Linked DNA regions of Homo sapiens: all the other regions are linked to region 4. The links are contacts of gene promoters, found by promoter capture Hi-C in blood cells and fetal thymus (Javierre and others, 2016). All regions are on one chromosome and are shown on one strand. The core of a region is centred on a gene start or on the middle of the fragment in contact, and the rest is flanking DNA. Distances in the headings are between cores, read along the strand shown.

Evidence for each region. The method cuts DNA at HindIII sites, captures the fragments that hold promoters and counts their contacts. A CHiCAGO score of 5 or more calls a contact.
Region 1: a fragment that was not itself captured here is called in contact with the fragment with the promoter of IMMT in region 4 in 1 of 17 cell types (monocytes); the score reaches 5.4 in monocytes.
Region 2: a contact is called between the fragment with the promoter of VAMP5 here and the fragment with the promoter of IMMT in region 4, in 8 of 17 cell types (fetal thymus, monocytes, neutrophils and 5 more). The highest score is 10.4, in fetal thymus.
Region 3: a contact is called between the fragment with the promoter of TMEM150A here and the fragment with the promoter of IMMT in region 4, in 1 of 17 cell types (erythroblasts). The highest score is 6.6, in erythroblasts.
Region 5: the fragment with the promoter of MAT2A here is called in contact with the fragment with the promoter of IMMT in region 4 in 1 of 17 cell types (erythroblasts); the score reaches 5.2 in erythroblasts.
Region 6: a fragment that was not itself captured here is called in contact with the fragment with the promoter of IMMT in region 4 in 1 of 17 cell types (fetal thymus); the score reaches 5.1 in fetal thymus.
Region 7: a fragment that was not itself captured here is called in contact with the fragment with the promoter of IMMT in region 4 in 1 of 17 cell types (naive CD8 T cells); the score reaches 5.0 in naive CD8 T cells.

Annotation. Positions count from the first base shown.
Region 1 is chr2:85,318,816-85,322,326 of GRCh38, reverse strand. It overlaps TGOLN2 (trans-golgi network protein 2), which reads left to right. Exons shown (of 4, transcript NM_006464.4): 4 at 1-3,511. Among named protein-coding and RNA genes, the nearest start is that of TGOLN2, 7.4 kb to the left of the region's middle. The HindIII fragment of the contact is 596 bases long and covers 1,473-2,068 here.
Region 2 is chr2:85,582,695-85,586,141 of GRCh38, reverse strand. It overlaps VAMP5 (vesicle associated membrane protein 5), which reads right to left and starts at 1,711. Exons shown (of 3, transcript NM_006634.3): 1 at 1,649-1,711. The coding sequence starts at 1,651. RefSeq lists a silencer at 1,440-1,789 and an enhancer at 1,079-2,034. The HindIII fragment of the contact is 4,352 bases long and covers 1-2,820 here.
Region 3 is chr2:85,601,382-85,604,466 of GRCh38, reverse strand. TMEM150A (transmembrane protein 150A) reads left to right here and starts at 1,769. Exons shown (of 8, transcript NM_001031738.3): 1 at 1,769-1,860; 2 at 2,403-2,583; 3 at 2,985-3,032. The coding sequence starts at 2,519. It also overlaps a transcript of USP39 not described here. RefSeq lists silencers at 1,560-2,139, 2,240-2,299. The HindIII fragment of the contact is 3,378 bases long and covers 1-3,069 here.
Region 4 is chr2:86,193,438-86,196,866 of GRCh38, reverse strand. It overlaps IMMT (inner membrane mitochondrial protein), which reads left to right and starts at 1,405. Exons shown (of 15, transcript NM_006839.3): 1 at 1,405-1,529. The coding sequence starts at 1,485. RefSeq lists enhancers at 1,415-1,534, 1,555-1,734, 1,855-1,904. The HindIII fragment of the contact is 5,542 bases long and covers 1-2,407 here.
Region 5 is chr2:85,537,600-85,540,782 of GRCh38, reverse strand. It overlaps MAT2A (methionine adenosyltransferase 2A), which reads right to left and starts at 1,615. Exons shown (of 9, transcript NM_005911.6): 1 at 1,405-1,615. The coding sequence starts at 1,495. It overlaps PARTICL (promoter of MAT2A antisense radiation-induced circulating long non-coding RNA), which reads left to right and starts at 1,897. Exons shown (of 1, transcript NR_038942.1): 1 at 1,897-3,183. RefSeq lists silencers at 1,028-1,357, 1,538-1,807 and enhancers at 1,838-1,927, 1,998-2,207, 2,608-2,697. The HindIII fragment of the contact is 3,815 bases long and covers 1-2,608 here.
Region 6 is chr2:86,804,586-86,807,616 of GRCh38, reverse strand. LOC105374846 (a long non-coding RNA gene) reads right to left here. Exons shown (of 3, transcript XR_940321.3): 2 at 1-30. It also overlaps a transcript of CD8A not described here. Among named protein-coding and RNA genes, the nearest start is that of CD8A, 15 kb to the right of the region's middle. The HindIII fragment of the contact is 1,014 bases long and covers 814-1,827 here.
Region 7 is chr2:86,776,258-86,779,756 of GRCh38, reverse strand. It overlaps RMND5A (required for meiotic nuclear division 5 homolog A), which reads right to left. Exons shown (of 9, transcript NM_022780.4): 9 at 1,716-3,499. Among named protein-coding and RNA genes, the nearest start is that of CD8A, 13 kb to the left of the region's middle. The HindIII fragment of the contact is 2,601 bases long and covers 170-2,770 here.

The DNA of each region.
Region 1 (3,511 bases), core at 521-3,020, 870 kb after region 4:
TGGTCCTTGACTGTGGCATTGCACTCTGCACTGTTTCTCTCTGCAGACCTAGGGGAAAACTGCAGGTGGAAGTGCTTTTCTACTAAGGCCTCTTACTTTGGGGGGGATGTGCCCTACAGAAGACATAGAAGATGGGGAAATGCCAATGGGCAAAGAGCTACTTTGAATACATAATTCTCTTCAAAGACTTCAGCAGCAAACCAAAACAGCAGGTTAAAAAAAAAGATGCTTTTTTGGGTGCAAGTCTAACCTGTCTAGCATGAGATCTTCTTGATTTTCTGATTATTTTATGTAGCTTGAGACAAAGTGAATCAACTTCCACTTAGTTGTACCGAGCATAAAACAGAACTTGGGCTTCCTGGCAGTGAGGCCACTGTCCCATCACAGATTTTTAAAATAAATATGATTTGAAGTAGTGTGATCTTTCACACAATCATACTCAGTAGGAACTTTTTGAAATAGGGCAAGTTTATGTTTCATGCGAGAAAACATGAAGGAGGGTTTTGGTTTTGGTCTGCAGTTTTTCCAAAGGGCTTTTATGAGATACATTTCCCACAAAGTCCATTTTGCCTTTGTTGCCTAAAACAGACAAAATAGACTTAGATTTATTAATAGAAACTATACTCTCTGCCAATTTTACCTCAGTGTATTTAATGGTCCTTTAATCTGATATAAGATGCCAAGGGTATTTGATAAAAATTCTTCTTCCATGCCATGTCAGGAGTTAATACAAATGAAGAAATTCCGTGGGTTCCCCTGGGATAAGTGAGGGTAGTGTCTTGGACAACACTATTGTTTGAAGGTTTATCTTTTCTAATCATGCTCTACCGCATTGTAGAGAGCCTAAAGAGAGTTGTTTCTGAGCTGATCTCAGGGAAATACAAATAACTTGGGAGATGAGGGAAATAAGATGAATTCTGTGCTGTCAAGGCAGTAAGTCTGAAGAAAGGACCATGCTTCTTATATTATCTTCCACCTTGCTTAAAACAGCCCATAGCTTTGAGTTGACATTTTCATTCTTGGCGGATAGCCTACTTTATGAAGGTAAGGAATGAACTCCTACCCTTCTTGGGTCATTCTCTGTACTGATGCGTTAGTCTTATAATACTTTGCACCAACCTGAGGAATCTTCTAGGCTTCTCTAGCATCCCCTAAGACTGTGGCTATTTCACGTCTCTCTCCCTGCCTGCCTTCCTTTTCCCTTCCTTTCCCCTCCTCATGTTTTCTGGTTGTGCCCATCTGTACCAGCTCCTTTCCATCCACCTTCGTATGCACCCAGATTTTTCTGTTCCCATCTGTCCTATTTGTTATTCATCCCGCTGCTCAACTTCTCCAGTATGTTGCTTCCCTTAAGTTGCCATTCATTCTCTTCATGACTTTTACTAACTCACTTCGGTCTCTGTCTGTCAACTAAACTTTTCTAAAGGTTACCAGTTATCCAATCACCAAATCCATGGCTTTTTCTCAAAGCTTAGTCTTGTCCTTGGCAGAACTGGACACTATTGACCATCCAAATGGAAATTCCCCTTTCTTGGTGTCTCTGACAAATGGTCCTTTGCCTTATCTTGTGCTGGTGGTGAAGAGGCCCTCAAAGCCAGGCCTCTCTATTCCTTTGACTGTCTCCTCAGCCATTAACCCATTCTTCATCCTCGGAGTGAGTGATTCCCAAGTCTTTGTCTTGGCTTAATCCCTAAAGAACCCAGTTCTGCTGGTATCGAATAGTTCAGCTTGGTTGTCATTGAAAGGAATTTCTCTCTTCTGTCCATCAGCCTGTCCCTCCCAACTGTCTAGGACAGTCTTCGGTCACCTAAATTCCTAACTGCAGACTTTTGCCCTTTTTCTCTCTCATCACCAAAGTCCCATCCATTTTTTTTTAATAAAAGATCCTCAGCTACAGTCTTTCCATTTTCCTTGCTTCTCTTATTGCACACCCCCAGCCCATTTTGCTTCTCTCTTGGATTTTGTTTTTTCAGATCCACATTTATTGGGTTTCCTGTCCAGCTTCTTGGAAAGGAGCTCACTCTTGGAAAGACTGATCTTTCCAAAATATTTTCCCTGGTCTGAAGCTTTGGTGTGAACTTCTCAAGGCTTAGAGAATCCAGTTACAGACCTTTTGGGGTTCAGGATGCTATAGATTGACACCCTCCTGCCTGTTTTTCTCTGCATCCCAACCTGGCCAAGGCCCCTCCTGTGGGGTGCCCATCTGTGCCTTTATTCCGGCTGTGCCCTCGACTTTCCAGCTTCCCATGTTTCTTTGGTTAGGTTTCTCTCCCTTCCTTCTTTCTCCTTCCCCAATCCGCCTGTTTCGTCAGGGCCCAGTTTGTTTCCTCATACACCTTCCTCACTACCCCACCCCACATGGTTGACTCTTTCCCTCAGCTCCACCAGCTCTTCATCATGCCACTCATTTCAGAACTTGAGCAAAACAGGGCAGTCAGGATCTGATGTCTTTCTGGTCTCCCTAAGAAAACTAAGCTCTTGAGGGACAGCCCTTGGCAATGCTTTCCTATCTGCTGATCATGGTGACCTTCCTTAGGACTTCCAGAGTTCAGTTCCTTCTGGCAGAGAGGTTTTCTTTCTCCATGCCATATGGATGTGACTCAAATGAGGGGTCCCACAGCTTTTCCTGGCTACCACTTGCTGTGACCTTATACATGTTGGGGTTTGCTCTTAAAGAGGAGAGCAGGAAGAAAGGTTGGTTTCAGAAACCAAGAGGGTCGGCAGTGGACGCGTACATTTTGTCACGGAGTCCACAGAGCTGAGCTTTTGAGCAGACTCTGAGAAGTATCATTGCTTGTGTTGAAAGAATACAACAGGATTTAAGTTTCTCTTTAGAAATTGCACTGAAGAAAGGCCGGGCGCGGTGGCTCCCCCTGTAATCCCAGCGCTTTGGGAGGCCGAGGCGGGGGGATCACGAGGTCAAGAGATCGAGACCATCCTGGCCAACATGGTGAAACCCCGTCTCTAATAAAAATACAAAAATTAGCCGGGCATGGTGACGTGCACCTGTAGTCCCAGCTACTAGATAGGCTGAGGCAGGAGAATTGCTTGAATCCGGGAGGCGGAGGTTGCAGTGAGCCGAGATCGTGCCACTGAACTCCAACCTGCCAATAGAGCGAGACTCCGTCTCAAAAAAAAAAAAAAAAAAGAAAGAAATAGCATTGAAGAAAATACCGCACATCAGAGGAAAGCTTATTTTCTGCATGGTGTCTTTTCAAAGATAGAATATTTGAAGCATGTTTTCTAGCGATTGTGTGGATGAGGGTGAGCTGGCTGAGGCATCGCTCAAGCTGGGGGGTGGTGTGTAAGAAGCACGTGGAGCCACAAGAGGCACCTCCTATAGTCAGCTAAGGGCTTCCCTTTCTGCGCCCAGCTTTTGGGTGAAGGGTGATTTCTATTAGACACATCTGTGCTTCAGTCATAGATGTTAATAGAGGAAGCAGTTTTCCTGCTGCAGATTCCTGAATAGAGTTGCTGAAAGAGTCTACTTCTGGACTCAGGGGAAGTTGAA
Region 2 (3,447 bases), core at 462-2,961, 610 kb after region 4:
GAGGTCAGACACTTTAGCTGATTGGCTAAAGAATCTGGTTGATGCTACCAACCTAATTTGTGTGCATATGAGGGAGGCCTGTGGCTCAACACACACATTCTTTGGAGAGAGGATCATCTACAAGATTAATGAATTCAAGTAATTATTCATTCCATTTCCATCTTTCCCATCACTGCTTTGTTCCTGCTCTGTCCCCTATACTTGTCACCATGCTGGCATGAAGGACATTTCCAAGAAATCCTTGTTGGTTGAATGAGTCATAGAGAAGAAAAGAAAAGTGAAAGGAAGAAGGACCAGGGAGGGAAAGGGGATGGGTGGAAGGAAGGAAAGCGCTAAAGGGGCAAGAGTGAAAGAAGAAACAGGAAGAGGCTAGGAGATGGATGGGTGGAGGAGCGACCTCCCCAGCCTCTCCTCCACAGACTGCCTCAAATGTACCCGTGAGAATCCCCAGGTTTCCCAGTATCCTCCTCCCCCAATAAAATATCCTGCCTTCAGCCTTCACTTCAGGAGCTTCTCCCAAAGAGCTAAGGGCCGGCTGAAGCCCACCCCTACCCCTGCCTGACCCCTTGCCCTGCACACCCTTAAGTGGGCTCTGGGCTCTGCCCTATTCTCAGAGCCTTCCTCAGCTTCCTGGCCTGGCCTCAGAGCTCAGTGCTACCTTCCTGCCCCACTTCCTCTTCCTGCCTCCAAGTTCCCTGGAGATAAGGCCATCCAGGCATTGACCCCTAGCCAGGCCACATCCATCACACCTCTGTCAGTTTCTCCAAGGCAAAATCTTAAAGCACCAAGCCTACTTCCTGCCCAGTCCATTTTCCCAGGAGCCCTAGGGAAAGGGAGAAACTGGCACCAGCTGTTCCTGACATCTTTGCCTTGGAGATGGCAAGTGAGGACAAAGGCCAGGATCTGCAGCAGGAGTGGGGATGACTCAACTCAGGAATGTGTCACTAGGTAGAGGTTAGCAGGGAGTCAGGCCTGTGCCATACACTGATAACTTCAGTGGAACTTTCAGAGTAAACATCTCCCTTTCTCTTTCTCTAGGGGAGGAGTTCGCCCTCCAACACCCTGCCATGGGGCTGGAATGGCCTCTGCCACCCCATCTGCTCAAGTTTCCAACTCCTGAGCCAGGCTTGGCTCCTCACAGCTGCGGAAAGGGCTGACGAGGTCGTTACATTTCCTACCACTTCTTAGCAGTGGGTTCTGAGTGCCAGGCGGGTCTCTGCCACTGTGGCTCCTTTAACCTCGCAAGGACCCAACAAGGCAGGTATTACTGACCCCACTTCACAGACGCGGAAAAGGAGGCTCAGGGAGGTTAAGTGACTTGTCCCGGGTCACAGAGCTGGGATCCCAGCCCGGAGTCCGACTCCAAAGTCGGTGCTCTTAACCGCTTTGCTTCAGGAGAATGGGGAGCCCGAGTCCCGCTCGCTCTGCGCGGTGCAGCCAGGACGGGGCTCACGCATTTCTCTCCCATGCGGCGCGCAGGGAGTGGAGGGTCCGCCCCGTCCTGCTCCAGCAGTGGTCACCGCCTCAGGTCTGGCCCTCGTGGGCCCCAGGGGAGGCCCCAGCCCGCGGACTTTGGACTCCTCTCTCCCACCCTCGCCACTCGCCCTCTGCCCGTCGCAGGGCTGGCCGGCCCCGCCTGGGCCCTCACCATCGCTGCTGCCGCCGCCGCCTCGCCCGCTCCCGGCTTCTCTGCCTGCGGAGCGGCCGCAGTGCCAGCGGCCCCGGAGGAAGAGCAGGGGCGGGGCGGGGCGGGCCGCCGAGCGAGGGCGGGGGGCGCGCCTTCCGCGAGTGGCGACAGAAACCAAGTCAAATCGAAAGCGATGGGCCACAGCGACCTGGGTCCGTAGAGTCGGACCCTCCCGGGCCCCAGGAGCCTGAATTCGGATGACACCTCTGCCTGGTGAACGGGCACACCTCGGGGCCGGATCTGTGGAATGGGCACAGTGGAGTGAGCCCTGGAGTCTTCTAGCTCGAGTTCAGCTGAAAAGGCATCATTCATTCACTCAACAAACACCCTATGAGTGCCACGGTCAGGCACCATACTAGGTCCTGGAGACGCCATGAACAAGCCAGGCAGGGTCTTTATCACCCTGGTGAGTGCATCTCACCCAGAACCAAAAACAGGCACCCAAAAAGTTTTGAAACTAAAGACAAGTGGTGGTTGCACAACATTCTGAATACATGTCACTGATCTGTACACTTTAAAATAACAAACTGTACATTGTGTGACTTTCACCTCTATTCAAAAAGAAAGCAGCCCCACATGGGCAAAGTACTAGCTCTAGCCTTTCTGTATGTCTTTCCTCACCATGAGGGCAAGTGCAGCTCTGTGCTGTCATGCACCCGCCATGCACTTGCTCCTCAGTCAGAGGATGGGGGAGGCTGGTGTATCTACTACCACTTCAGAGCCTTCCTGAGCCGAATCTACCCATCCTGTCCTCTCACTGCTACAGAGAAACCACCAGCTACCTGTTCTCCACTACTCCAAGCTGCCTCGGACATCTTAAAATAAGGTCCCTCGTTTTTTTTTTTTTGTTTGTTTGTTTTTTTTTTTTGAGAGAGACAGGGTCTCACTATGTTGACCAGGCTGGTCTCGAACTCCTGGCCTCAAGCAGTTCTTCTGCCTCAGGTTTCCAAAGTGTTGGGATTACAGGTGTGAGCCACTGGGCCTGGTCCCTCAAGTGAGGCCTCTCTTGACCAACAGAATTGAAAGTTTCCCTCTCTGGGGCTGAGCCTCTGTGAATACAGAAGTCCCAGACCAAGAGGGTTTCACAGACACTCACCCCCACCTTGGACAGCCTGGGTCCCAAGGCAGAAGCTTCACTTCAGTTCCTTACACCTTGAATCCAGGAGAGAGAGGATTAACATGTTGTAGCAAAGACTACCCCAAGCCTGGGCACAGTGGCTCACACTTGTAATCCCAGCACTTTGGGAGGCCAAGGTGGTAGGATTGCTTGAGCCCAGGAGTTTGAGACCAGCCTGGGCAACACAGTGAGACCATGTCTCTACAAAAAATACAAAAATTAGCCAGGTGTGGTAGCACACACCTGTGGTCCCAGCTACAGGGGAGGCTGAAGCAGGAAGATCTCTTAAGCCCAGGAGATGGAGGTTGCAGTGAGCCATGATCACACCACTGCACTCCAGTCTGGGCAACAAAGTGGGATCCTATCTCTGAAAAAATAAAAATAAAAATATCACAAGGGTCTTTTCTGACCTTTCCTCCTCCCTCCCCAAATTTCAGAGCATGATTCTTCCAGAGCCTGACTTGCCAATCTGGTCCCAAACCCTGACTCTCAACCCTTCCCCTTCTTCCTGACAACAGGTTGTTTCCAATTCTGGAAAGCCTGTGGAGGAAACAGGAACAGAGATAGCAAGAACCCTCCCTGCAAACCAAGGCGGACTGGGCACTGGAAAAAGTGACAGTGATGGTGGAACCTGGTAGGGAGG
Region 3 (3,085 bases), core at 520-3,019, 590 kb after region 4:
GCCAAGGCGAGCGGATCACCTGAGGTCAGGAGTTCAAGAGCAGCCTGACCAACATGGTGAAACCCCGTCTCTACTAAAAATATAAAAAAATTAGCTGGGCATGGTGGCAGGCACCTGTAATCCCAGCTACTCGGGAGGCTGAGGCACAAGAATCACTTGAACACAGGAGGCAGAGGTAACAGTGAGCCGAGATTGCACCATTGCATTCCAGCCTGGGCAACAAGTGAAACTCTGTCTCAAAAGAAAAAGGGCTCTCCAACAGGTTTTCTGCTTCCATTTCTGCTTTCCACTGGGTCCAAGAAGGTTTCTCCCTCTTCAAGTCATTGTGCAGTTTATTCTGCTCTACTTCTCTAAAGCACAGGACCCTGTTGTTTCACATAGCCTTTGCCTCACCAGTGTTGCCAAACTTCAGCTCCCCACGCTGGGCAACCTGCGCCTGTGCACCATTCAGGTGATGATCTGTCATCTCACAAGGGCTCCAACAGATGCTGGGACCGCCTTTGAGACAGAATGCCAGGCACACTTCTGATATGTGAAAGTATTTCCACCCTTGCAATAATTTAAGAAACATCCGGGCCAGGCGCAGTGGCCCACGCCTGTAATCCCAGCACTTTGGGAGGCCGAGGCGGGCGGATCACGAGGTCAGGAGATCGAGACCATCCTGGCTAACATGGTGAAACCCCGTCTCTACTAAAAATACAAAAAAATTAGCCGGGTGAGGTGGCGGGCGCCTGTAGTTCCCAGCTACTCGGGAGGCTGAGGCAGGAGAATGGCGTGAACCCGTGAGGCGGAGCTTACAGTGAGCCGAGATCGCGCCACTGCACTCCAGCCTGGGCGACAGAGCGAGACTCCGTCTCAAAAAAAAAAAAAAGAAAAAGAAAAAGTAAAAAAAAAAGAAACATCCAGGAATGCACTCATAGCCTGTAAGTTTTTGGTGAAGCTGGTCAGTAATTTTTCCCACACTATCCTGTTTCCTTTTCCCAGATTCCTCCGGGTCTCTCACCTTCCCCTCTTTGCTTACCAACACTGGCCATGTTAATCCTTACCTACTCTACACTGACACCTACATGTGTCTATTTAGAATGGATGTCCTCTGGTCTCTGCCGTCTTATTTCAAATAAGTGTTGATCAGTCGGGAAACACGTCTTGGACACTGATTTCTGGCTAGTACATTGTGTACTTGTATGCAGGAAAGCAAAAAGTATCTAATGAAAGCAGCCCTCCTCCGGAGTTTGCTGAGCCACAGGAACCATAAGCCAAATCCCAGGCGCTTGGATTTCTTAAGAAACAGCCAAGTCTTTGTGTCTGCTTCTCTGGACCCACCGCAGCCCTGGCCAGAGGCAGGCATGGGGCGCCACGTTGAGAGAGCTTCCTAGAGGACTCACCGTTGGCCGGTGCAGGCTGCAAAATGTGCGCAGTGGCGGAGAGACGCTCCTCCAGCCATGTGCACGGCGACAATCCCAGGTAGAGCTGGAATGCAGGCTGCCCCGAGATCCCCACCTGCTGACGCTTCCCCGGCAGGAATCGGTTAAACGGAACCTCTAGTCATCTCGGTTTTAGAGCGGTCTTCACGCCACAGCCCTCCGCGCCCAGGTCCTCCGAAGTTGGGACACCGCCCACGTTTCCCCCGTGACGCGGGCGCGGGGGCTCGGGAGTTGTAGTCTCGGGCAGGGCGCGGGCACCGAGGCCGGGGCTGCGCGGACTCCACGTCCCGGCGGGCGGCGCGGCGAGGCCTGGGGCCTCCAGGGGCGGGGCCGCTCGGCCCTTTAAACCTTTCAGGGCTGCTCCGAGGGCCGCAGCTAGAGTCGGCGCCACGAGGGGGCCGAGCAGGGTGCGGCGGCGGCGGGGCGCTCCGGGGAGGTGCGTACTGGGCTCCTTCCCTTCCTCCGGGCTTCCAGGAATCACCTGGGGACTCTCGCGTCCCGGGTCCTGGGGGGTCGCCGGCCGCAGGGTCCGGCCCCAGCCGGGGTCCCCGCGCCCAGGCGAGCGGGGGCCGGGCCGGGCTGGGCTTTCCGCGTGAACCCGCCCCTCGCCCAGGGCGCCGATGGTCAGGTGGTTGCCTGCGCGCCGCCGACTCGCCACCGCTCCACTGGGCCGGCACCCAGCCTCTCCTTGGCGTGGCCTCTTCGGTTGTCCAGCCCTTCTCCCAGCCCTGGTCCCTCAGAAGGAGGGTAACTCCCTTCCAGATGTTACGGTCCGCCTGCGTCTCTCAGCACGCCGGTGGCATTTGGGTTGACCGCGGAGGCCCCCAGTGCCAGAGGGTGTTCACGTTCTGCCGTGGGCTCAGCCCAAACTTTGGACGCTCAGAGACCCAACGGGAGCGCTGGATAAGGTGTTGACCCCCTTCCCCTCCCCCTTCCCGGCCAGTTACCCACTCCTGGACTTTGATCTCTCTCCACCAGGCCAGGACAGCTGATGGTTGTGGCAGAAACATCTCAAGGTAGCTGGTCCGCCCCCACTTCCCCATCTACCTCTTGTCCTCCCCCCAACACCACCACCACCCTGGCTCCCCTCCCTCATGACCGCCTGGATCCTCCTGCCTGTCAGCCTGTCAGCGTTCTCCATCACTGGCATATGGACTGTGTGAGTAAAGGGGGGTGCCCGGGGGGCAACAGGAGCTTGATGACGCACACAAAGTCTCTTGTCCTGTCATAGCCACGGTGGTACCCAGGGTCACTCTGGGTGTCTCAAAAGCCTGACTTGGTGCCTGGGCACACAGCCCCTTGGGACAAGCTGGCACCACTGCTGTCCAGCAGGGTGGCCCTGACAAATATACTTCTAGCCAGGGCAATTTCCAGAGGGCCTGTAGCTGGGGGCATGCTGCAGGTGCTGGTGTGGCATCAAGCCTTAGGGACCTCAACTTGAGTCCCCAGCAACAATAATGAGGCTGAATGGGGCCAGAAATCAAGGTTGAAGAGAAGGGTCATGGGGTGGGTTGAGTGGGGCTCGGGAAGGCTGCCAGGGTGACAGTTCTGTTCCCACAGGTATGCCATGGCTGTGATGAACCACCATGTATGCCCTGTGGAGAACTGGTATGAAGGACTCTGCAGACAACCTTGCTCTAAAGCTTCCTTCATCTCTGTCC
Region 4 (3,429 bases), core at 156-2,655:
TTCAGATAATTTTCAAGTCCATCTCTCCATGCTACAAGTCATAGCGCAGTCTACCTCTAGAGAGAATACATATTGTAATAAATTACCCAGTTAAGACTTGGAATACTTTGCAAATCCAATAGAAGATAGAAAAGTTAGTTTCCACGATATTGCAATAAGATGCTAATAGTATTAATACGAACATATTAATTCTGGAGTATACATGGAGTATTAATACCATGCTTAATATTTAACGTGTTTTATTTTGATTACAGAATCAATGGAATACTTTTGTTTTTTGAGACAGAGTTTCGCTCTTGTTGCCCAGGCTGGAGTGCAATGGCGTGATCTCGGCTCACTGCAACCTCCGCCTCCCGGGCTCAAGCAATTCTCCTGCCTCAGCCTCCCGAGTAGCTGGGATTACAGGCACCCGCCACCATGCCCAGCTAATTTTTTGTATTTTTAGTAAAGACGGGGTTTCACTATTTTGGCCAGGCTGGTCTCGAATTCCTGACCTCAGGCGATCCACCCGCCTTGGCCTCCCAAAGTGCTGGGATTACAGGCGTGAGTCATAGCTCCTGGCCCTACTTTTCTTTTTAAATTTTTTGTTTGTTTATTTTTCTATATAGAGACGAGGTCTCACTGTGTTGCCCAGCCTGGTATCGAACCTCTGGGCTCAAGCGATCCTCCCGCTTCGGCCTCCCGAAGTACTGGGATTACAAGCGTGAGCCACCGCGCCCTGCCCAGTGGAATACTTTCAACGGTGCTTCTGCATTGACTTCCCATCTTCCAACCCATCCACAAACTGCAGCCAAAATGATGTTACTACAGTAACAACTTGGAGAAAGCAGTGTGGCTTAATCTGGAAGGAGCAGAAGCTGTGGAGTCCAAAGGACCCGTGTTCCTATCCTTGTTGTGCCACTTGACACGTTTAGCACAAGGGTCCCCACAGTGTTAGTTCACCGTCTCCAGCAATCACTATGACTCCCTGGAGGGCTGTCAAACGAAACAAAGGCGCAAACTGAGACAATTCCATTGTTTACGTAACTTTCGCCAAATCGGCTCCTTCCTACGAAATATCCAGCTCATAGAGCAGGCTGAGATGCTTTGTTGCTTTAATTCTCTTTAAGAGTCACAGCTGTCCATTTTCCACGTGCGGCTGAAGAATGGATTTCAGAGCGCTCTCCCTCCGGCAGTGTTCACCTAGTAACCCCTTCCGGATAAGGACCTGCAGCCCGGGCGCGACCCGGAAAGGGAATCCGCCCTTTTCGCCTCCTTCGCGCCAATCGCCTGGAGTTGGCGTTTCCGCAGCCGGGACACAGCCCACCCTCTAAGAGCCGCGGAGTCGGGGACGGTAGAAGGGGCCGCGCGTGCGCAGTGGCGTCCGCTGTGCTTCCGGTGCGCCGGGCGCGGACGCGGGCACGCACACACGCAAGCACGCCTCCACTTAACTCGCGCCGCCGCGGCAGCTCGAGTCCACCAGCAGCGCCGTCCGCTTGACCGAGATGCTGCGGGCCTGTCAGTTATCGGGTGTGACCGCCGCCGCCCAGGTGAGCACTGGGGCTCCCGGAGGCGCGTGAGGAGGCTGAACTAGAACCGTCAGCGAAAAACGGGGGAGCCTTGGTCGCTGCCTAGCCTCCAGGACAAAGGCGAGCCTCAGGGCCACCCTCGTCGGGAGAGGCCCGGGCGGGCAGCTAGGCAGCCACCAGGGAGTTCGCCGGACTGGGATGACTTGAGGTTATTGCAGCAGCGGGGTGGGGTGTGGAGAGTAGCGGGAGGCGCGGCTTCGTGGGCATGTAGTCCAATCAGGGCCGCGCTGCCCCCGTCCAGGACCAATCCTGGCTGCTGGCGTCTGGGTCGCCGGTTGGGCGCGCGATAGGTTTTCAGTGCTGAAGGTCGACGGGCGAGAACTACAGTTCCCGTCAGGACGAGCGGAGCGGCGGCTTGTTGCATCCTTAATAAGGAGGTGCCTGGACTTCTAGCGAGAGTCCACATTTTAGGGGTCAAGGTTGTAATTATCTGGGAGGGAGTGCCTTTCTTTTCGCAGCTGAGAACACTTCTGAGTTATTCTTAATCCAAACAAAAGCGAAAGATTTTCATTTGTGGAGCTGAAACTCCTGGTCTTCAAGGAAAGACAGGAGTCATGACCTTGTGGCTCATTTCTGAGATTAGGGCAGGGATCTGTGTCTCCAGGCGCTGGGACTACTTTGACATTCAAGGAGCCTAAATACCCAGTTACTTCTAGTTTTGCGTAATTGCCAAAGTTACTTTCTAAAATTGAAAATTAAAAAGCCTGTTTCCACTGCTCATGATTTTCAGGAAGTTGATATTTTGGCAAAATGTAGATAGCAAACCAAGTACTGTGACTCAAGCAGTAATTGAACAGAATCCCTAGGAATAGTGAGTTAGAGATCATAAAAGTCAAGCTTTGTTTTTTCAAGTTCGCTTCTCTTCCTATTTGCTGCTAGGTAACAGAAGCAGCCCCTTCCATAGGAAAGTGGAACGAACCTGTGTTAGTTTTCTATTGCTGCGTAACAAATACCACAAATTTAGCAGCTTAAAACAACACCCATGAATGACCTTACGGGTTCTGTAGGATAGAAGTCTGGGCACGGATGATCTGTGTTCTCCGCTCCAGGTCACATAAGGCTGCAAAGTATTAGCCATGCTGTGGTTCTCATTTGGAGATCAGGGTCCTCTTCCAGGCTCATGCAGTTTGTTGGCAGAATTCAGTCCCTTGCAGTTACAGGACTGAAGTACTTCTTTTCTTGCTGCCTCTTGCCAGCCACTGCTCCCAGCTTCTACAGCCTGCCTACAGTTCCTTGCCTCAAGGCCTCTAGAGGCCATTCATAACATTGATGTTTGCTTTCGTGCAGGCTACCAGGAGCTTGCCTCTCTGACTTCCAAATTTCTTTTACTTTGGTCTTTCCTCTCTAGACCCAGATTTAAAAGGCTTATGTGATTAGACCAGGCCCACCTGGATGACCTCCTTTTCAGTTAATTCAGAGTCAACTTTTTGGGATCCCATTTGGGAATTAAGAAAACTAATTAAAACTTGGTAATAAAAAATGAACCCTTTTATAGCTCTGAATCAAGATGTCTAAGCTTCTTGAAATTGCTGTCTTGTAAAATTCTTTGGTTTATTCTCACCATCTCCTTAATTCTGTAGCATTTGACATTGCTGCTTTATGAGGCTCTTTGTACTTTTGGCTTCTCTCAAGTAATATTTTGGGTCCCATCTCTCTTGTTTTCCTTTACTGAGTCTGCTTCTGCTTTGTACCTCGAAATATACACCTTCTCATCTCTTCCTGTCTCTTTATAGACTCTCTAATTTGAGATTACATCAACTCTCAGAACTTTAATCCCCAAGCAGGTGACTCTCTAGCCTCGTCGTATTTGATTGTATCAACGTATCCAGAATATCTCACTTGTCAAGATCCTTTCCACTTT
Region 5 (3,183 bases), core at 366-2,865, 660 kb after region 4:
CTGAGGCCACAGGTAGGCCAGTTTCCCTAATCTTAAGGAACACCAATTATAATGAGCAACAAGATAATTCGATTAAACAATTAAATGAAAAGCATTTTCTGACTAAAATGGCAATTATCTGATTTTGCTGTTAGGAGTTGCGCAGGAAACAAAAGCTCAACAGTGTAGAAGATGCTCAAACGTATTCCGAATCCATGTCTCCCTGCTTTGTCATCTATTGTTAGGAGGGAGAACAAATATCTCCCTAATTCAAGTTCGTTTTTCTGAATTTTCTATAACCGCCTAAAACAGAATCCAAACATAATGTGGAAGCCAGACTGCAGGCTCTGAACTTCGGTCTACTACTAACTGGTGTAACAGCTAACCTTCAGCACTCATCAAGATCCTGGGTTTGTCCTCTCATACCACTAAGTTACTTGTGGGATTTCATCATGGGCACAGTAAACTGACCAGACCCTAAAGCCACCAGATAGATAACTACTGCGGTCATCCTAAGGGCAGAAACAGCCAAAAGAGCCAAATAATCATCTTTACTAGCCGATATGCTCAGGCTGAGATTTTCAGTTCCTGGAAATATAGCTTTACTCCTCCTTCACGTGCCAATTGATCCCCATAATGGCGGTTGAGCGGACAAAGCCTCAAGTAAAACCCTGCACCGAAGACTTTAAATGCGAACCCAAAGCAATGGCAGCTCCTAATTCATGCTTCCCATCCTTTTCACAAGGGGTCCAAATAAGGACTGCCTTCTTGGACATGAGCTATATTTAGTCAGAGGCCGTCACCTTGGAGGCAAGGCCATATCCGCCGAAGGGCATGTGCGTATTCTCCAGTGTGTAGTCAAGACCTAACCACTGAGGCAGTGGAGCCAGACGACGTCCCAAGGCATAGGCCCCCCACCCCTCAAACTGAGGGCCAGGACAGCCGGGGAGGCTCACGGCTCCCCCTCGCCCAGATACCACATGCGGCAAACACGTGGTCGCCGCTGCAATGCGGGGCGCGCGCTCCCGAGGGCCGGACGCGAGCACGCGGGGCGGGTCGCCCACTCCAGGTTTGTCAGACGGCAGGGCCGGGAGGGGTTAACAGTGCCCTCCCTTCCCGGCCAGAACTCACTAGCGACCACAGCCCCCGCCCTTCACGTTTTCTGGAACCTTCCGCATGCCTAGGCGCGCGACCGAATGAAAAGGGAGGGGGGAAGGGAAGGGTGGAGAGGGGAGGGGGAAGAGGAGCGGCGGCCACGCGCCAGGCCCTGGCGGCGCCACGAGGAAAGCGCGCGGTCGCCGCTCTTCCATCACCCGGCGGACGAGGACGACCCGCGCGGGCCCCACCACCGGCCGGCCGCAGCCAGCCGGACCTTGGCGCTGCCTTCTGCCCCGCCCCACGCTTCGCTTCAGGCCGTCCCCTCACCTGGGTGGCCTTCCCCGACCGACTCTGAGGTGAAAAGGAATGTGCCCTCCTCGATGAACGCCTCGTGGAAGCCGTTGAGCTGTCCGTTCATGTTGGTGTCGGTGTGCGGAAGTGGCCTTACGAAGGAGCAGCGGCGAGGCGGCAGCGGCTGCGAAATGCGCAAGCTGCGGACAGCGTTCTACTCGTAGCAGGCGGGCGGCGCGGAGCGAACGAAGCAGCGGGCGGTGCGGCCCGGTATTTATAGAGCAGCGCCCGCGCGCGCCCGGCTCGGGCCCCGCCCCTCGGCGCCGCGCGCCAATGCACCACTTGCGCGGGGGTCGGGGGAGGAAGGGCAGCTCGCCCCGCGGAGTCCGGGCTGAACCACACTGCGCGGCCGCGGGAGGTGCCGTGGCAATCCGGCCCTCCAGAGACCGTTCAGCTATCTTGAGCCGCTAGAGCTAGGAGAAAAATGCAGACGCGAGGAGACGTGGGGGATTGCTCTTCCTTGTTTGATGTGGGAGAAAAAGCGACTGGGGCTTGCTGGACCCGCTCCCCTGTGCGGTGACATGGCACCTCCCTTCCGACCGTTGGCCGGGATAGCTTTCCCGGAGGTCGCGTCCCCCAGCGGAGGCGGCGGGAATCGCGGAGGTTTTGTGCTGCGGCTGGGGTCTTTCTGGCCGTCCCGCCTCTAGATGCCGGGTGGCAGGGAGCCGGTGGCGGTCGGCCATGTGAAGGTGGCCATCTTGGCCGGCCAGCGAGGGCTCCTCACGGCCTTCCTTCGGCGTCCCTGCCCGGCTCGTTGCCGGCCCCGGGATATCTGAGGGGCGCAGGCCCACCTTCTAGTCGTTTCCTGGTGAATGGCTCTGCTGAAGATGGCCGGAAAGCAGATTAATGAAGGTGCTGCCATCGATTTAAACAATCGCCCTCCTGCCCGCTCCCCTGCGCTAAAGTTTCTGAGGGATCCTCACCCTTCGTGGTTCGTGGACTTAAAAGTGGAGGCAGCGCTCCAGCCTTTCCCTCCAGAGAGAAAGGAGGCCGCTCCCAAGTCCGTCCTTGCCCCGTGGCCTTCCTGTTCCTTTGAAGGGGGGGGGAATCGATGTTTCAATCCTCTGTTCAGGAGAATATGGAACGAACATTTCTTTTTTGGTGGGTGGGGGCTATTCGTTCCCTTGAATGTGCTTAAGCAGATCTCTTGACGGCGTGGAATGGGCTGTTTCATGAAGCTTTCACTTTAAAATGTCCACCTGCGTTTGTCCCAGTTTTGCCCAATAAAGGAATTACAGGGAAAAAGAGCGAAACAAAACTTGAGCCAGCAAGGAGTATGGAGTCCCGTTTGGAGGGAGCCCGCCTTGGGGGCGGGGGTCTCTGCAGCCTGTTCTGGGGCTGGGCCTCGGTGCAGGTCTGGTCGGGCTGGTGGCCTGGTGGCCCTGAGCGGAGCGCGTGACAAGAACGCCGGGTTTAATGAGGTTCTCAGGGAACGGCCTGCTCCTAGCATGGGATGTACTTTACGCTGGGGAGGTGAAGGAGACCCCTAGTAACAGTCTCCAGCTGCCTACTGCTGGCGGCAGTAGAACAAGGTGCATTCCCAAGAACAATCCTCTCCGTCGGTGCAGGAGGAAAGGTGGGATTTGCTAAAGGCTCAGTGGGAAACAAAGGAAGCACTTGGGCTGTGCTGGGGGCATCCACAAAGAAGATAAAGGGCTCCTCCCCAGACTCAGTGACCACATCCACGGTCGCTCAAAGCAGGCAGCAAGAAAAGGTTCGACCACAAAAGAGACAATAGGTGATGATATTTTTATT
Region 6 (3,031 bases), core at 71-2,570, 610 kb before region 4:
CATGGCTGGCGTGCCCCTCTGCGGTGAGACCTGCAGAACAGGAATTGGTGCCGGGTCAGCAGCCGGCGATGAAGCCGGACGAAGCCTGCAAACCCCACCCATACGCCAGCTTCACATAGCTCCTATCCATTGCACAGCAGCGTGGGGAAGCACCGTTCTCTACCCTCCAAGTAAGAAGCTGATTGTTGGGGCACAGGGGAGATCCTATAGCATGGCTCTGCTTATGGGCACGCGCAGAAACATTCCCAAATGAATTTTTTTGTTGTTTGTTTTGTTTTGTTTCTTGTTTGTTTTAAGAGACAGGGTCTTGTTCTATCGCCCAGGCTGGAGTGCAGTGGTGCAATCACGGCTCACTACAGCCTCGACTTCCGGGCTCAAGCGATCCCCCCACCTCAGCCTCCCAAGTAGCTTGGACCATGGACCCGCGCCAGCACGCTGGCTTTTTTTTTTATTTTATTTTATTTTATTTTTTGAGAGAACCTGATTTCCTTCCAACCAATTGTGCTCTCCCAATTCCAACAACCAAATGAAGCTTCAACGCTTCTTTTTGTTCAGAGGCCTCCTGAGTCCTGTCCTACTCACAGTAAAGGCTCTGGCAAAAACAAAAACAAAAACATCATGGGGCAAAATAAACTGCATCTTAAAAAGGCTCATTTCTCTCTAGGTCTCTCTCCAATTTGTTATCTTGAAACGATTTACCCAAAATAGAAACTTTAAAAAAGTAGTGGAAAATTTTCTTTTTGCACAAGATGGTTAATTCTTTTGGGTGCTGGCCTGGGATCCATGAAATAACCTACACTCCACCATAAAGCTTTTCACTCCCATGTTTTGCAAACTGACGACCTTGCTGGGGGCAAGCTCCCCGTGTGACTTTACGAGGGAATTTGAGTGGTGCAAGCCGGAGGATGGGGCCTCACTATGTGGCCCAGGCCGGTCTCCAACTCCTGGGCTCAAGTGATGCTCCCCTCACGGCCTCCCAAAGTGCTGGGATTAGATGCGTGAGCCAACGTGCCCCGCCCAAAGGGCAGTTGACCTCAGCGTCTGAGGTGTGGAGGGAGCAGCTCGTTCCTCTTTTTCCTGCTCTACTGGGAAGGTACAAACCATACTAAGAAATCCTCTTCAGTCTGTCCCCACAAAAAGAGAAAGAGGAGTTGCTGCAGGCCAAGGACAAGGAGGAAGGGAGGAGAGAGCCCTTGACTTCTCCCACTTCTTGACTTTCCTTGCCGTGGTCTTTCCTTCCTTTTTCCAGGTCCACACCTCTCCTTCTATAGTCCTAGAAATGGGTCACCCCCTACAGGAGTCAGAGCCTTCGCCCAGCCCTCATGCTCTGAGGGTAAGTGGGTGGAAACAGACGCCTTCCCTCTCGCAATGTTTCCATCACTGCGTCCTCCACCTTGCACCACTCAGATCCCCTCGGAAAGTCACACGGGGGGCTTGCCACCAACAAGGTCATCACCGTTTGCATAACGTGGGAGTGAAAAGTTTTATGGTCGAGTTGAGGTTATTTCATGGATCCCAGGCCAGCACTCAAAAGAATTAACCAACTTATGCAAAAAGAAAAGTTTCCACTGGCTTTGTAAGGTTTCTATTTTGGGTAAACTGTTTTAAGATAACAAATTGTCACATACACATTTTGTTGTGACAATTGTCACAACAAGAGAAAAAGAAAAAGAAAGAGAGAGAGAGAAAGAAAGAAAAAGAAACGAGCCTTTTTTGGATGCAGTGTATTTTTCCCCTTTATTTACTTATTTATTTATTTTGCCACAGCCTTTACTGTGAGTAGGACAGGACTCAGGAGGGCTCTGAACAAAAAGAAGAGTTGAAGCTTCATTTGGTTGTTGGAATTAGGAGAGCACAATTGGTTGGAAGGAAATCAGGTTCTCTAAGCATCAAAAAAATTCGTATTTTAAGTGATGTGAGTTATGGAAGGCAGAGAGTTCTTGGTATATGGAAGTTACTGAAACAGAGCAGTGGACAAACGGGCAGTCTGCAGAAGAGGAAAGCTGAATAGCCAGCAAACATGGGGCCAGATGCTCGGTCTCAACCTTAACAAGAGAAGTCAGGTTTAAACAACGAGATACCATCACACCCTATGAGATTGGCAGAATTGAAAAGACTGACAAAACCAGAAATAACAAAGCTCGTGGGTAAATGAAAACTCCTCCACAGCTGGTGTGAGTGTGGACTGGAACCATGACTTCGGAGAAAAATGTATCAAAAGCTATGGGACACATCTTTCGAATCAGTCATTTCTCACAAGGTTGCCATACTCCTCAAGTCATTCCTTTTCCAGGAAAACACCCTAGAGAAAATCTTGTACTTGGACTCTAGGGAATGTGTACAAGGATGTCCATTGTAGTTTAGCTTATAACAGCAAAACCCAGCCCAAAAGTACATCAACAAAGGAATGAATAAATGAAAGTGGCAGTTGTCATTAAACCTTTTTCCTTTTCTTGTATCACCCCAAAGTATGAAAGACTATGGACTCCTTCACTCATTAAAAAAAAAAATTTAGGCCAGGTGTGGTGGCTCATGCCTGTAATCCCAACACTTAGGAAGGCTTAGGCAGGTGGATCACTTGAGGTCAGGAGTTCGAGACCAGTCTGGCCAACATGGCAAAACTCTGTCTCTACTACAAATACAAAAATTAGCCAGGCATGGTGGCGTGTGCCTGTAATCCCAGCTACTCAGGAAGCTGAAGTAGGAAAATCATTTAAGCCCAGGAGGTGGAGCTTGCAGCGAGCTGAGATCGCACCACTGCACTCCAGCCTGGGTGACAGAGCGAGACTCTGTCTCAAAAAAAAAAAAAAAAAAAAAAAAAAGATTTAGCAAGGAACAGTGAATGGCTCACCCCTGTAATCTCAGCACTTTGGGAGGCTGAGGCAGGAGGACTGCTTGAGGCCAGGAGTTGGGGGCTCAAGAGTTGGAGGCTGCAGTGAGCTGTTATCACACCAATGCACTCAACCTGGTTGACAGAGCTAGACTCTGTCTCTAAAAAAAATAATAATACTAATTTATTGTGGCAAAATAC
Region 7 (3,499 bases), core at 221-2,720, 580 kb before region 4:
ATTGTCCCGTCATGCAAGGTTGTAAAAACTGGCTCATTAGCAGGTCACAAAATCAAATCAGTCTTGGTGAGCATTAAAAATAAAATCACACATTTGTAGCACTAAATATTGTTTTGTAAAATATTTCAGAATTCTAAATTTTGTGTACACAGGGTTATGCTATTAAGCTTCTTACTGGGTGCTGAAGGAAAAAGAAAAGTTAAGAAAGCCTATTTTCTGCTGGGATATTGTTTATTATCAAGTTTCTCTGCTGGGGGGTAAGAAGCATCAAGCTGTTTTGTTTAAGGATGCATTTTTAGTCCTTATTTTGTCATTATGAAAATTATTTTTCATCTTTGACACTCACCTTCCCCATTTTGGTGGAGGGGGTGGAAAATGCTTTTTACCATACTGCAAATACAGTACTCCCTCAATTACCTAGATGCTTAAAGAAATACACTGATTTTTAAAATAACTAGAGTTCAAAGCACACTAAATTTAAATTTTCTTGATGACTAACAGATTTACCCTTAGTCCTCAAGGGTAAATTCTGTTCAGTACGTGTGATCTTGACCTGCCACATTTAAGAGGGAGGATACTTCCTGAAATAGGAAGCATCCAGGACACTCCTTATAAGGGAAGCCCGTTTTCTCATGACCATGCAGACTTTGGTTCAGCAGGGTTGAGCTGAGGCCTGAGATTCTGCATTTCTCACAGGCTCCCAGGTGATGCTGATGCTGCTGGTCCATGGACCACACTTTGAGTCCTGAGGAGCCCAAATGCTGGAGGGAAAGGTGGTGAGACCTTGGCCTGGCCTGCCAGGCCTCTTCTATACTACCTGGGCCACTAGCTCCAACCTGACTGGATGGGACCACAAGGGTTTCCATAGGTAAGAAACATTCTAAAATCTCAGGTAACACTAAGTCTTTCTCTTAAAAAATATACAAAAGGAGTACAAATAAGTGCTTGGTCTCTACAACCTTGGCCTGCCATGGAGGACAAGGCAATTCAGTTTCTGGTCTTCCCTGGTAATGCTGACAGCACAAGTTCTACCCCCTCCAGCAGCCTGGACATCGAGCTGTTTCCGGGCTCCACTTTACCAATCATACACTCACTGCCACTCTGGTCAGTACACAGGGCAGGGTCCCCGCTGTGCACAGGAGGGGCGAGAGGGGGCAGCAGCCTGGAAACATTAAAACAATCCCCTACTCAGAAACTCGGGACTCAGCCAGGTGCAGTGGCTCACGCCTGTAATCCCAGCACTTTGGGAGGCTGAGGTGGGCAGATCACTTGAGGGTCAGGAGTTCGAGACCAGCCTGGCCAACATGGTGAAACACTGTCTACTAAAAATAAAAAAAAATTAGCTGGGCATGGTGGCACATGCCTGTAATCCCAGCTACCCGGGAGGCTGAGGCACGAGAATCGCTTGGACCCAGGAGGTGGAGGTTGCAGTGAGCCGAGATTGGGCTACTGCACTCCAGCCCAGGCAACAGAGTGAGAGTCTGTCTCAAAACAACAACAAAAAACAACTCGGGACACTGCTCAGTCACCTTCTCTTCTCACTGTTGGTGGCACAGAAACACAGTAAGATGGGGACAGATATTTTCTTAAATTCTTGACATGCAGACCCTTAGCAAATACAGACAGCAATTTTCTCTTCTCACAGTCAGCACCTCCCTACTCCCTCCCTCATACCTTTGTCACCTGGCACATTTATACAGACTGGTTCCACAAAACACTTTTTAAATGTGCATTTCTTTAATTTTTAAAAATATACACAGGAAAAGCCATGTGTTTTACATAGGAATACACACATTAACAAAGCATTTCTTATAGTTTTCCAAAACTCTATTATATCAGTCCGAAATTTATAAATTAAATATATCAGAATTCTTAAAGTTAAAATGAATTCCCTGAAACTACTGGATATGCTACTTTTTCCAAAATCAAATGAACAGAGGATATGGATGTGGTTTGTGTTAAATAAGGTTTATTGTTAGCTTTATTGCCTATAGTCTATAAGATGCAACTTTACTGTGCCTTTGCAAACAGGATACATTTCTTAAAAAATTGATCAAAATTTTCCATACATATAGCTCTATATGATAGATTACAGTGCAACACTATTCTCGTTACATAATTATAGAAATACTATAGAACCCAAGAGCACGGGGTAAGCAAAATAAATACAATCCTGAGCCATCTGAACAAGATGATTTGATGAATCCTTTAGTGTAAGTTTAGAAAACACAGAGAAGGAAAAAAATACATGCATACTGCAGTCATGAGCAAAATACATCAAACACCTGTTCCTTGCTAGGTGCAGGTGGGGGCAATGGTGAACTTCAGACACATGCACACTCACTCACACTCCCATTTTCTTCTGCTTCCCTCCCAGCCCCAACACATTCATTCCCGCCCCTTCCCAAAAAAAAGATCAGGCACTAAATCCTAGTGAACCCCACAACTGCCTTGCTGGAGAAGGTTAAGTGACTGCTAAAGTAAGAGTGTATGTAGGTCCTCACCCATAACATGAAACAAAGCATGTGCTGTAAGCCAATTCCAGCTGCTTTTGCCTCTTTGGAAGTAAATGAAGCATATGCCCACTACAGCTTGAAACTGCAGTGGAAATGTCTTGAAAACAAAATTTTGTTTCTCTTGCTATGTCTTGAAGTAAAATCAACAGTGGAAAATTCATCCTAAAACTGCCTCATCTGCTATTAAAATACATTTGTCATTCTATTTTTGGTATCTATTCAATTATAGTTCATTAAGAACGGTTCATGAAGCTTGTACCTGCTTATGGTAAACATCAGTGTACCACACAAAACCTGCCACACCTAGACAGGCTTATGAAACACCAAATCTTCTATGTGTTCCTTGCTAACATTCCCTCAAGACCACAGCATTCTAGTGTTACCAGAGATAAAGTACGTATAGTTAAGTGATGAAAGAAAGGTATTTGGTTTGTGTCGTCACCTTATACATCCTAGTGATGAAACTAACCAAACTATGCCTCCATGCCTTCCCTGAAAATAACCTGAGTCGGCTGACGAAACAGACTGAGCAGCGTGGCTCTCAGTCCACTTTATCAGAGGTTGAGCTGGAAAACCAGAGGGCTAATGTAGTCTACCAGCAGCTTGTGCGGATAACCAAGAGTTCTTGGCTGTTGCAGTATCCACTGTCCCAAAGGCTAAGCCACTGAGGTGGAAATCAATCGCAGCATAAAGAAGACTGAACTTAAGCTGCATAACCTGCGAGACTACCTGGAGAGGACAAAAGAGGATCAGGATCCTCATTTCCCACAAAATGTGGTGTGGGTTTTAGTGTCTCTATGCATTAGCTGCTACAGAGAAGTTAACATTTACTTCATAGCTTTCTTATTTTCAATTAAATGCTCACACTCAAAAAATACACACCCTATGAATATGAGGTGGCTCTTTTCTTCAAATTTTTTAAAATAAAGAGGCACCAATACCCGTTCATTTATGTATTAGAAGTCTCGTATAATCACCAATAA